Linked DNA regions of Homo sapiens: region 1 is linked to region 2. Evidence: promoter capture Hi-C in human tissues and cell types (Jung and others, 2019). All regions are on one chromosome and are shown on one strand. Each heading gives the region's core, a stretch centred on a gene start or on the middle of the fragment in contact. The rest is flanking DNA. Distances are from core to core; before and after follow the strand shown.

Evidence for each region. Contacts are between HindIII fragments. The study calls those that stand out against the background at their distance.
Region 1: a fragment that was not itself captured here is called in contact with the fragment with the promoter of GRHL2 in region 2 in 2 of the 25 tissues and cell types used here (aorta and bladder).

Annotation. Positions count from the first base shown.
Region 1 is chr8:101,563,356-101,569,636 of GRCh38, forward strand. All of the region lies in intron 4 of GRHL2 (grainyhead like transcription factor 2), which reads left to right. Among named protein-coding and RNA genes, the nearest start is that of GRHL2-DT, 74 kb to the left of the region's middle. The HindIII fragment of the contact is 3,497 bases long and covers 385-3,881 here.
Region 2 is chr8:101,487,505-101,493,690 of GRCh38, forward strand. It overlaps GRHL2 (grainyhead like transcription factor 2), which reads left to right and starts at 4,935. Exons shown (of 16, transcript NM_024915.4): 1 at 4,935-5,285. The coding sequence starts at 5,266. GRHL2-DT (GRHL2 divergent transcript) reads right to left here and starts at 5,201. Exons shown (of 2, transcript NR_186782.1): 1 at 4,946-5,201. RefSeq lists an enhancer at 4,953-5,481. The HindIII fragment of the contact is 12,677 bases long and covers 1,032-6,186 here.

The sequences.
Region 1 (6,281 bases), core at 883-3,382, 73 kb after region 2:
ATTTTTTTTTTTTAATCTTTCAGGTGAGCAAAGAGTACAAAAGGTTGATGAGCAGGGACTGGCTCTCTGCAAAGTTGCAGAGAGCAACTGTTGTATACTAGGACATAGAAGTTGCACTAGCAGCCCTGCCACTCCTGGCACCAGTCATTTCTGAGTGCCTGCTGTATTCTGTGGAATCAGGGAGTGATGAAAGTGACATATGATAAATTCCTTGTCCTTAAGAGGCTGTCATATTTCTTGGGTTCTGGTAGCTTTACAATCAAACTTTCAATGCTCTTGAAATTTAAAAAATGGTCTTAAAATTATCTTTCTTAGCTTCCTGCATCATATTGCTTAAAATAGTTAGCAAACTTATTTTTTTTTTGTTTTTTTTTGTTTTTTTGTTTTTAAACTGAATGAAGGATCTTGTAGAGTCTTTGGTATTGTTGATTATTTGATTTGCTCTTAAGTAGTGAGGGGTGCTTCTGTAGAAGAAAATAACTGAAATTATCACTCCATGATCCCATGTGAGGTACATGTTTTTTCACCAAAAGATTGCCACTGATGTATTTTCTCACACAGTGTAGAAATATTCCATTAGTCACAGAAGAGTGTATGGATGTGGTCCAATGTCAACGGAATCATCATGCTATTTGGGGGATGTGTTATCAGTTATGTTTGTTGTTTGTATTGTAGATAAAGAGGCTTGTGAAAGGAAGCTATTGTATTTTGGGCTTTATTTTGAAGTAGATGAGAAAGTAAAGAAACTTACCAGAAACGAAATATAAAGACTATTCCCACTGATTTTGGTTGAGCTGCTGTCCTTGTCTTGGAAATCAGTGTTTACATGGCATGTTGTATTTCAGCCTGGTGTAAATTAAATTGAATATCCTACTATGATCTTTAGCTATTTCATTGTCAACTAGTTATAAGATTAAGTGATTTCAGAGTAATTTCACCAAGAAAATTTCATTAAGGAAAATTTGTCTAAACTCACTTATTCTAGGCAAACTATTAAAATATCTAGAACCCGGGTTGAATAATCAAATTTATTTTGCCATTTGAGACCAATTCTTCTGTGTGTATGTGCACGTGCATGTGTGCACAGTGGTAGCAGGGAAGGGAGTAGTTTGCTTTAACTCAGGCTGGGATTTTTGAAAAGACAGTGGTAGCATTAAAAAGTGCTTTAGACTGGGAGTGGTGGCTTGTGCCTGTAATCCCAGCACTTTGGGAGGCAGAGGCGGGAGGATCATTTGAGCCCATGAGTTCAAGACTAGCCTGGGCAACATAGTGAGACCCTGTCTCTACAAAAATACAAAATAAAAAAATTAGCTAGGTGTGGTGGCATGCACCTGTAGTCCGAGCTGCTTGGGAGGCTGAGGCGGGAGGATTGCTTCAGTCCAGGAAGTTCAGGCTGCAGGAAGCTATGATCATGCCACTGCACTCCAACTTGGGTGACAGAGCAAGGCCCTGTCTCCAAAAAAAAAAAAAAAAAACCACTTTAATGGATGAATTTTAGCTAATTTGATCTATATTTTATTCCACATCCTCTTTGTAATAACATTTGGCAAATATGTGTTGATTTATACTGGGTATTAGGCACTGTGGTGATGTGGAAGCTTAGGGCAAAATGCATACTGGTTTCTGCCTTCTAGAAGCTTACAATCTGTCTGTATGTGTGAAGGGAAATAATGCTAGATGCCATTTATTGAGTTCTACTCTGTGCCAGGCACCATGGCTTACTCATTTTACTTCTTATCCTTACTGTCATCCTGCAAGGAAGGTGCATTATTTTTTCCATTTTACAGATGAAGAGACAGAGGTTCAGAGAGGTTAAGAAACAAACCAAAGATCATGCCACTAATAAGCAAAGAGTATAGTTGATAAATATACAATGGAGTGGTATTTAAGACCAAAAATATTTTAAGAAACATTTAAAAATTAAAAGATGGAAGGATTTTTATCAAAAATCATATAGATATATAATCATAATAAATCAAAATGGAAGGAAGAATTTGTTTATTCTGTACTACAGTTTTCTATAAGTCAGTTAACAATAGTTTCTGGTTTAGGAACAAAGCAACATCAAGATCTCAGTGATTTAATACAATAAAATATTATTTCTTGCTAATAAAACACTGATGCATGTCTGTACAGTTCTCTTCCAATTAGTGACTCAGGAATCCAGGGTCCCTGCATCTTGTGACATTATCATCTCTATGTGTGGTTTCTAGTGTCTCCCCAGCAGAGGAAGGGAGGCCATGGAGATGGCATACTGACTTGTAAAGTCATACTTTACTGACTTTAGTCATATTGACTAGTTGACCTGGAAGTGGCGCAACTGCACCATCTCACATTTTGTTGGCTAGAACTAGCCACCTGATCAACATAACTGCAAGAGGGCCGAGAAGTTTAATTCTCCCATTAGTCCTCCCATGTGCTCAGGAATTGAGAAGAACTATTTATAAGTGAACATCGGACAGCTCTACTGTGTATTTCATAACTCAACTCCAGGCATGTTATTTGTAGAATTAACATAGTTTGCAGAGCATCTTGAAATGAAAGCAAGTAATGACTATTTGTCATTATCTGGATAGATGTATGATCATTAGTCCATTGATTTTATATTCATCTAGTCTGAAACTGGAAGTGATCCTGGATCTAAACCCTATCCAACTTAATTGATTGACAGCTGGTAGTCCATTATCCTCCACACATTTAAAGGACAAAATCTCAAAAATGTTGATTCATCTACTACATTGGAACATGGCCTCACTTTGGATTAATGCACACAGTTTTATTATGTTTATCTTAAACATATGATGCAGTGGCTATGGTAACACCAAATTTCTGTCACTTTGTTAATGTGTTTTAGCACCAAGTAAAATTTTAGAAATTCTCTGGGATACACATTTTATACCTTAGGAGGATTTAAATCTATATGTAGTCAAAGTTGATAAGACTAGATCACTCATTATTTATATTAACATGGCATTTACTCACCTCATGCACAGAATGTCTATGAATGTCCCAGTTCTGTTAAAGCTGTTATTTAACTTTGCAGCACCATTTGACACTGTTGATCACTCCTCCCTCTTGCAAATGCTCTTGGCTTCATGTCCACAGCTTCAGTTATCATCTGTGTCCAAAAGACCTTCCAATTTTACTCTCCAGCCCGGTCCTCTCTTCTGAACTAATATTTATTATAATGTAATAATATTTATGTTATAACTATAATAATATAAATATAATAATATTATTATATATATTATTATAATTAATATAATTATATTTATTATATCTAACTGCCCGATTGATTTTTTTTACTTATCCCAAGTCTAACTTATGATCCTCCCCCATACAACCTTATCCATGTTTCTCTGGAAACATTGCACTCTGTTAGGAACATTAAGGTTGACTGCCAGTGATGCCAATTTTCCCTTTCTCATAGCAGTGAATTTGATGAGCTCATATAGAACTTTTGCTCTTCTTCAGAATGCCTGCACACAGTTTGTAGTTTTTAAAATATTTGATTAGCGTTTTTTCCTACTTTACCAGAAGCTTCATGAGAGCAGGGACCTATTCTCCTTTTGTTCACCACTGTGTCTGTAGCACTGAGCACAGTGCCTGATATAAAGTAAATGTTCAATAAATATTTATTGAAAGAGTGAATGGGTAAATGATGGGACCTAAAAAATTGTGGCTAATCAAAGACAAGAAATGGTTTAGCAATTTATGATTTCCCTACAGTTAAAGAATCATTGTCTTTTTGAGACATATTCTTACCAGATATCTTGTCTTTGCAACCCAAGAGAAAGAACAGAATTCCAATATTTGAGATTTAAATATGTTTACTATTGCCTAATGTCTAAGGTCCTTTAAGAGTAATCTATCAAGTATATGTTAGCATACCTTCTTTACTATCATTTTTCTGAGTTCAAATTTACAGATGCACTGTATCAAATCACAGTAAACTACAGTGATGTTGGCTGTCTGACTGCCTTTTGGCATCCTACAAATTATATTAATAGGTCTCCGAGCAACTGTGGAAACTTGATAACTGTAGCCAGAATGACCTGAGCATTTTGATTCTAATTCCTAATACTAATTTACTTACAGCCATGTAACCCATCAATGTAATCAGGTCTCATCTAAAGGATGGTGATGTTTTCTAGGTACACTATCCATTTAATTCTTTTAAAATTATAAAGATAATGTAACAGAATTGAAGAAAAAATTTTAAGCTTAATGAAAAGTAATATCTATGTTTGTAACATGGTAACTACAGTAGTCACCACTACTATAACATGGAACTGTGAAAAATGTTTATTTCTTCACAGTTCTTGTCCTCATGCATTCATGCATTGAAGTGGGATTCTGTATTTCAGCCAGAATGTAGTTGAGTCTTTCTGAGTCTGAAGATTTGTAGTATCATACCTTCTCATGCCATCTGGGGGATTAGAACCACAGAATTTACAAGTCCAATATGCTTTAGGAGGTTAGCCTATCCTCAGGCTGCAGAAATCTATGGCATGGATGGTAATTCATTCTTGCCATGTTTACTAATGCTGATTCACCTGGTTTTTATGGATTACTGCATATTCCTTCAAGCAAACACTTTGGAAATGCATCTGTGTCTCCAATAGTTTTTTCATCATATTACCCTCCTACTCCAAAATTTTCTAATTCCTGACCATATTAAATGTAAATACATTTTCCTAAATCAGCCTGTCCAGTAGAGCTTTCTGCAATGATGGAAATTTTTTTTAATACTATCCAATGTTAGTCACTAGCCAATGTGTTAATGTAGTACTTGAAATGTGGCTAGTTGACTGAGGAATCAGATGTTTAAATTTATTTCAGTCTAATCCACTTAAATTTAAATAGCACATGGAGCTAGGGGCTATCATATTGGGCAGCAGGACCTACATTTTCAAGTCCCTGCTAAATAACCAGGCAAGGCCTGTGTCCTTGGCCTCATGTATGCACCACATTTGTACTCATCGTTTTTGTCTTGACTCATGGTGGCCCTCCCTTGCTTGGGTTACTTTCTCTCAGTTCCTTCAGTTAATCCAGGCTGTCTTTGACTTCCAAGGGTCAGAGCGAAGCTCACCAGCTCTATGAAATCCCCCTATAATTTTGCTGATCTTCCTTTCCTGGTAATGCCCAGTCCATGCTTTTCCAGTCAAGACACATGAAAGAATGAATGATTCAACATAGACTTTCATATATAGCCATTTTCTGTATTTTAGTTTTTTTTTTTTAATGTGAATTTATTCCATCCCCTCAACCAATTTTTATCTCTCTGAGGCCAGGGCAGTGTTATATATAATTTTGTGTTTCTTCTGGCACCAAAGCAGATTGTGAAGCCCCAGAAAATTCCCATTGAATGCTTTGCTGATTACCTAATTTATTGCAAAAGAAACACAAATCTGTACCTTTGATTCTCTGTCATGATTATTTATTCAGCCAACAATTATTTGGGCAATGTTCCTGGGATTCATGTGGGTAAAATTTGAAGGGAAGATAATCTTCTTGAATTCAAGAAGTAAGATTGGATAAAAAGAAGGATCATAAATATGTATGGAAACTGTGATATAAGGTATGCTGAGTTCCAGAGATGATGGTTAGGAGTTGTGAGGAAGTTTGGAAAATAGCTGTGGTAACATTTTTCCTTTAGAAGGAAACCCTTGAAATGCTGGTCAAAGAATGTAAGTTTATTGCACAGAAATGAGAGGCAGGAAGGTTATCTCTTAGGAAGAGACACTTGAAAAATGGTCATAGTGAAAAAACAAGATACGTGGTCAATGAAATGCTTTTTCATCAGTATTCTACAATATTCGCTTCCGATCAAGAATTAGGGCTTTTGGTCGTCTACTTTTGAAAAGGTTCTAAGATGCAGCAAAGCACATCCTATATGCACTGTACATACAATTGAACATCTTGAGACCCAAGCTTCTTTGTGTGTAATACTAAACTTAGTTTCCCCAGAAAACCTACTCTTAACAATATTGTGATAATGAAGATCCTTAGAGAAGGGCACTGAATAGGGTCAAATTATTACTTTATAATAGTATTTATACATGTACATAGTGCTCACTATGTACCAGGCTCTATTCTTAGTAACTTCACTTTTTTAAGAAAATAGGGTCTTAATAGGCACTCCAGCCTGTCGCTCAGGCTGATCTGAAGTGACGTGATCGTAGCTCACTGCAGCCTTGAACTCTTGGGCTCAAGCGATGCTTCCGCCTCAACTTTCTGGGTAGCTGGGACTACAGGGATGAGCCACCACACAAAGCTAA
Region 2 (6,186 bases), core at 3,685-6,184:
ATCACTAGGTTGAGACTGGAAGAATCCACACAGGTAAAATCCATTATTTACTCTATGGCTGTCTATTGCAAAACTGCATGTTCAGCATAATTTAGGATGATGGTCTTCAATGGCTAAGGGTGTGCAACTTTATGCTGTCAGAATACTGTACTGTGTTTCTCAAATTTTAAGACGCATCAGAACCACCTATAGGCTTGTTAGAAACACAGGTTCTTTGAATTTCTGATTCCATGGGTCTGGAGTGAGTTGGTGAATCTGCATTCCTAACAATTTCCCAGGGGATCTGATGTTGACAGTCCATCCAGGGACCACACTTTGGGAACCACTGCTGTACTTAAGTGTTTATGAATAAAGATATTTGGAGACAGAGTAGTAGAGTCTCATGGTGAGCGTGGCAGAAACTTTCATATTTATATACTACTCTTCTGCCAAAGGAATCAAAATATTTGGGTAACAGGTAATTTCATGGTTGACAATTTAAAATGGTCCTTTCGAACATTTTCCTTTGCTAATCTAACCAATGAATACAGCAGTAGTTAGCCAGTAGGGGGACAACAAGCTATCTGAACAAAGTTGAGTTATTAGATACCAAAGAAGAAGAAAAGATTCTTGACTATCATAAACCAACAAAAGGAATGGTTTAACCATAAACACTGGGTTTCTTTGCACAGACAATTTGGGACAGTTTGGTAAAATCTTTTGTATAATTTTGGAAACGGACTTCAGATTAAACGATTAAACACACATATTTATCTTCATTCTCCCCTGAAAAGGATAGTAAAAGAACATGAAGGGATAAATCCAAAGGGGCAAAGAAGATAGAGGAGGAGTCATCAGCAAAAGCTATATTTCAACACAATTCTGAAGAATAGAGAGGGTCGATGGAGGAGTGAAAACTAGTTTAACAGAACAGTGAAAGCTACACTCTAATATGGCCATAGTGGTCAGTACAGAAAGAGCCCAATTCCCTACAAAACCCTAGAGTGGTCTGGGCCTTGGAGATGACAGAGATCACTAGAAGAAAATGCTGATGAGGGGCCCCAGGATCCCGGAAGGGTGAGGGAGAGGTGAGCAGCTAAAAGCAAGAGGCCAGGTCAATGTTGGCACTTGGAGTTGCTGGAGTCTCAGGTGCCCTGTCCCACTCCTCGCAGTCAGCATGAGAAAGAGGAGAGAGGCTTGTCCAGCAGGCACAAAGAAGGGCAGGAATAAGGCAACTGCCGGAAAGGAAAGAGTGTGAAAGATTGCACCCTAAGCAGTTACTCATCCAGACCTCTTCCCCTGAACTACTTCCAGAACACTGGCAGCCAAGTGAATGCCTCCTCAGGCAAGAGATTATAAGATATTTCTCATGAGAAACTGACAAGCCCCAAAGAAAAGACATCTAGCTTCTGACATTTGAGGTATCTTCCCATGAAAAAATGAGCTTTCATCTGATCACCATACAGCAAACCCACCAGTGAGCAAGCACATTTTTCTCACCCACATATAGAGTTTCTGGTGAGGTTTCTATTACCTCATTCCTACTTATGAAAGGAGAGGAAAAGGTTTGCAGACAGTTGATGAAAGCCTCTAACGTGATGGGACGAAAACAAATACATGAGAAGGGAAGCTAGAGAAAGCCAAGACAAGGCAGGAGGCAAAGAAAGCCCTACAGTAAGTAAATACTCTCAAAAGATAGAAAAAACTAGTGCGACTGTGACATAATCACTAAATTCTCTTTATAACAGACAGCATGAAATGAGCTCTTTAAATAGTTGAGGTAACAACTGCAGTAGAAAGTAAAGCAAGAAAATATCTTCCAAAATAGGACAAAAGGTGAAGACATGTGCAACAGGAAAAAAAAAAAAAAAAAGAACATTCTGAGATTAATCCAGTTTAAAAAATAAATAATAAGATTGAATAATAATTGAGAATTTAATAAGTGCCTGGTAATGTTCTAAGTGGTTCAGACATATTAGTGAGATAATTACTATTATAATCTCCATTTTATAGATGAGGAAACTGAAGCACAGCAAAATTAAGTGACATTCTCAATAGTAACACTGGAAGCTAGAAGATAAAAGAGCAATTTTTGCCTGTAATCCCAGCTACCTGGGAAGTTGAGTCAGGAGGATCACTTGAGTCCAGGATTTTGAGGCTGCAGAGAGCTATGACCATGTCACTGCACTCCAGGTGGTGTGACAGAGTAAGAACTTGTTTTTAAAAATTTAATTAATTAATTTTTTTAGAGACAAGGTTTTGCTCTGTAGCCCAGGCTGGAGTGCAGTGTCATGATCTTGACTCACTGCAGCCTTGACCTCCCTGGGGTCAGGCAATCTCCTCTCCTCAGCCCCCTGAGTAGCCGGGACTACAGGTGCACACCAGTATGCCTGGTTAATTTTTGTATTTTTTGTAGAGATGGGGTCTAGCTACATTGCCCATGCTGATCTTGAACTCCTGGACTCAAGTGATCCTCCTGCCTTGGCCTCCCAAAGTGCTGGGATTACAGGTGCAAGCCACTGTGCATGGCCTAAAAATTTTTTTTAATTAAAAAATTAAAATAAATAAGTGAAAAGCAATTTCTATAAAATTATGAATGAAGAAATTCTGGTAAGAATTCTACACTTGGTCAAACTCTAGTAAAAGTAAAAGTTGAATAAAGACATATTCAAGTATGTAATAACTCAAATTTTTACCTTCTGTACCCTTTCTTGGGCTGTTACTAAAACATGTGCCATGGAAAATGAAGCAGTAAACCAAGAAAGAAGGCACAAAACACAGAAATGGGGGTTCTCACACTACAGATTAAGGAGTGTCCCAGGCCGGGCACGGTGGCTCACACCTGTAATCCCAGCACTTTGGGAGGCTGAGGCAGGTGGATCACCTGAGGTTGGGAGTTCTAGACCAGCCTGACCAACATGGAGAAACCCCGTCTCTACTAAAAATACAAAATTAGCTGGACTTGGTGGTGCATGCCTGTAATCCCAGCTACTTGGGAGGCTGAGGCAGGAGAATCACTTGAACCCGGGAGGCAGAGGTTGTAGTGAGCTGAGATCACACCGTTGCACACTAGCCTGGGCAACAGAGAGAGACTCTGTCAAAAAAAAAAAAAAAAAAAAAAAAAGAGTGTCCCAGGATGACACTTGAGAAGCGGATCCATAGAGCAACTCATCTCCACTGAAACAGTAGAACAATGAATTTCTGGAGGAATTGTTTTCAGGGCAAAATTGGAATTGATTGTTTGATCATTTGGAAAATAAACATGATAGTCATTTGATAGATCAGTTGTAGAAAAATATCAGGATGGGGCATAACAAACTAAGTAAATAGATACAAGGTTTTATAAGGAAGAAAACAAGAATAGTACACTATTGGCTGTGTTGTCATTGCTATTGGCATAGTCACTTACTTAGCTCCTAAACTGTGAAAGTGCTGTGTTGGAAGGAGAAGTTGCTTGGCATGAAAGAGCTAAATCCTAATCTGAAGCAACAGGTAGTCAGAGCACAACATCTATTGGCAAATCAAGAGATGGCAGTACAAATTATTTAGAAATAGGGAGGTAAATGACAGAAGAGACAGATAAAAGCAGAATATGGCTGCCTCTAAAAAGGAGAGGAACATGATAGGTATTGCATTATCTTAAAATATTATATTAAAATAGTACCTGCATTGTCTTAAAATATATTATTTCTTTAAAGTGTGTGTTTATATTGTTTTTTAAAAATACAATTTTGAAATTTATTGTTGAAAATGGACACATGGAACAAACCAAACCTTGTTTTATCATGTAATTTTCAGAAAATATGTGATCCATAAAGATTAAAAGAAAGTTGTATTAAGTCTGGCAGCTTTAGTATTAACTTGAAATAAAATATGGCAAGCTTTCCACGTCCTCCTTTATTTCCACAATCCATATGTACGAGCTAGATTCCAGTCAGAACTTCCACAAATACTTCACTCTTTGGTAGCAGCGGTTATAAATTACGCCTTTGCTAATTTGCGTTGTTCCCAACCAGGAGAAACATTACCACAAAAAAAGTCAGTTTCATCCTGCAGTGTTCCCGCAGCAACCATATTAAGCTGGAAGAATAAAGCTCCTTTGTAGTAGTAGCGTCTATTGAATTACAATGTAAATGTTGATGCCTGCCTGGAAACGTCAAATGACAACAGGTTTACAGAACGAATTCAGTGGTTGTTTGCAGCTCTGGAATCCCAGGCTGCAGAGTTGAGATCGAAGAGGTGCGTCTGGCCATCTTAGCGTTCATTCAACCAAATCTCCTCACTCCATCAAAACCACGCCACTCCCCACCTGCCCAGCTCGTAAAAGGATGCTCACCTGTTTGAAAATCTGTAATATATCTGATGTCTTTTACACAGCAGGACACGAAAAAGTGTTTGTTGTGGATAAGAGTGTTAAAAATTCAATTACGCAACAGACCAAACTTTGTGCTTCTTTCCCCCTCTCAGCACAAAGTAACTTTAGTCCCGTCCTCTTCTGCCACTGTCAAACAGCCCTGTTACTGTGGGCATTAAATGCCTTGTGGCGTACTGCGCATTTGATTCTGGTTGACTTGGGATACCTGAGCTCGGCTCTCATTAGCTCTTCCGCTCGACCCACAATCCCTAGTGTTTGCAGGTGTTGCATTCCCCCAACCCCTTTCTTCTCTTCAACCAGTAGCCTCCACCTTCCCATCCCTGCTTTGGAGAAGGAGGAAAACGCAGCTTGAGATCTACTCGAAGAACTGACCCTCAGCTCTCACAGGCTGCCGCCGAGCTGCAAGCATGCCGCCGCTCCACTCGGGTAAACTTCGGAGTGAGTTACCTGCACTCGGAGAAGGGCCTTACCTGAGCGCGCCTCTGCCAATGGCAGCTCACCTGAGGGAGCTCCCCAGCCAATCATCGCGCAGCTCGTCCCTCGGGCTTGTACCCTTTAGTGAAAGAATTCAGCTCCTTGCGAGAAAGTTACCTGTGGCCGCCCAAGTCCGCCACTTTCTGCTCTGTGTCTGCCCATTGCCACGATCCAGGAGGACTCCGCGCCGCCCGGCCGCCTCCGAGCTCGGGCCCCATGTGAGGGGCCCCCCCTTATCCCACCTTTCCGGCTAGGTGAGGGCGCGAGCGGGCGAGCGAGCGAGAGTGGTGAGGGGGGACGGAAAAGCAGAATTACCTGTAGCTCTTGTTCTGCCATCTCGGGCGCTCTCACACACCTTCACCTGCACAGACTTGAAAGTCCAGTTTCACCAGAGGCTGAGGCTCCAGGAAAAGCGGAGCAAGTTCATTGGATCAAACATGTCACAAGAGTCGGACAAGTAAGTGGATCACACGCGCCGGCTGCTGCTACTACTACCACTTTGGGCTGATGGCAACTGGTTTGTTATGTTTTTGTTTTTAAGTTGCTATTGTTGGTATTTTTCTTTCTTTTTTCTTTTTCTTTTTGGTGGATCCAGACTTTTCCGCATTATGTTTCTACCCTGATTAAGGGGAGAAACCCTACAACAATGTGAATATTTAATATCCCCTTTGGGCCTTGATAGTAAAAGTGGGTTTTCCTTTTCCTTCTTCCCTTAGGAATGGTCTCAGCTCCCGCTCCTGGATGAATACTTGGATATTGCCAGAGGTTTTGGTAGATGGGCGCGGGAGGCCTGCTCTTCCCTCTCTGTTTTAGCTGCTCCCACCGATCTGGCGTTTAGGGCCATTTGGAAGTTCAGCTGAGTTCCTTCGATTTGTCCAAAGGGCCTACTGGAAAAGTGGGGCTTGGCCGCTTTTGTGTGACCGCAACAAAGAGCTTTTATATGAGGCAGAAACGGCCATCTTCTCGCACCGGGCAGGAGGGTGGGCGTGAGTGCGCGCCCGCGTGTGGCCCCGATGGGAGGCGAGGCGCTGGGAGGCCGGGGGGCGCGGGGGCGGCCGGCGCCGTCCCCCACTCCCTCGACATCCCGCCTTCCTCCCCCCTCCCCCGCCTCCCTCCCCCGGGTCCGCCCCCGCATTGTTTGGCCACCTTCCTCAGGTGCCCGGGGGGAAAGGACGGTTCGCGAACTGGGGGAACTCATGTGAGGCCTCGAGTTAGGGCCTCGGCGGGGCGCGAAGGGGCGCCTGCCACTGAGCGATTCACCCGCGCCCCCGACGGCGTCTGCACGCCCCTCGAGCTCGCGGCCCTCCACGCAGTTGGCCGCCACCTCGGACGCGGCAGGCGGGACTGCGTGGGGCGCG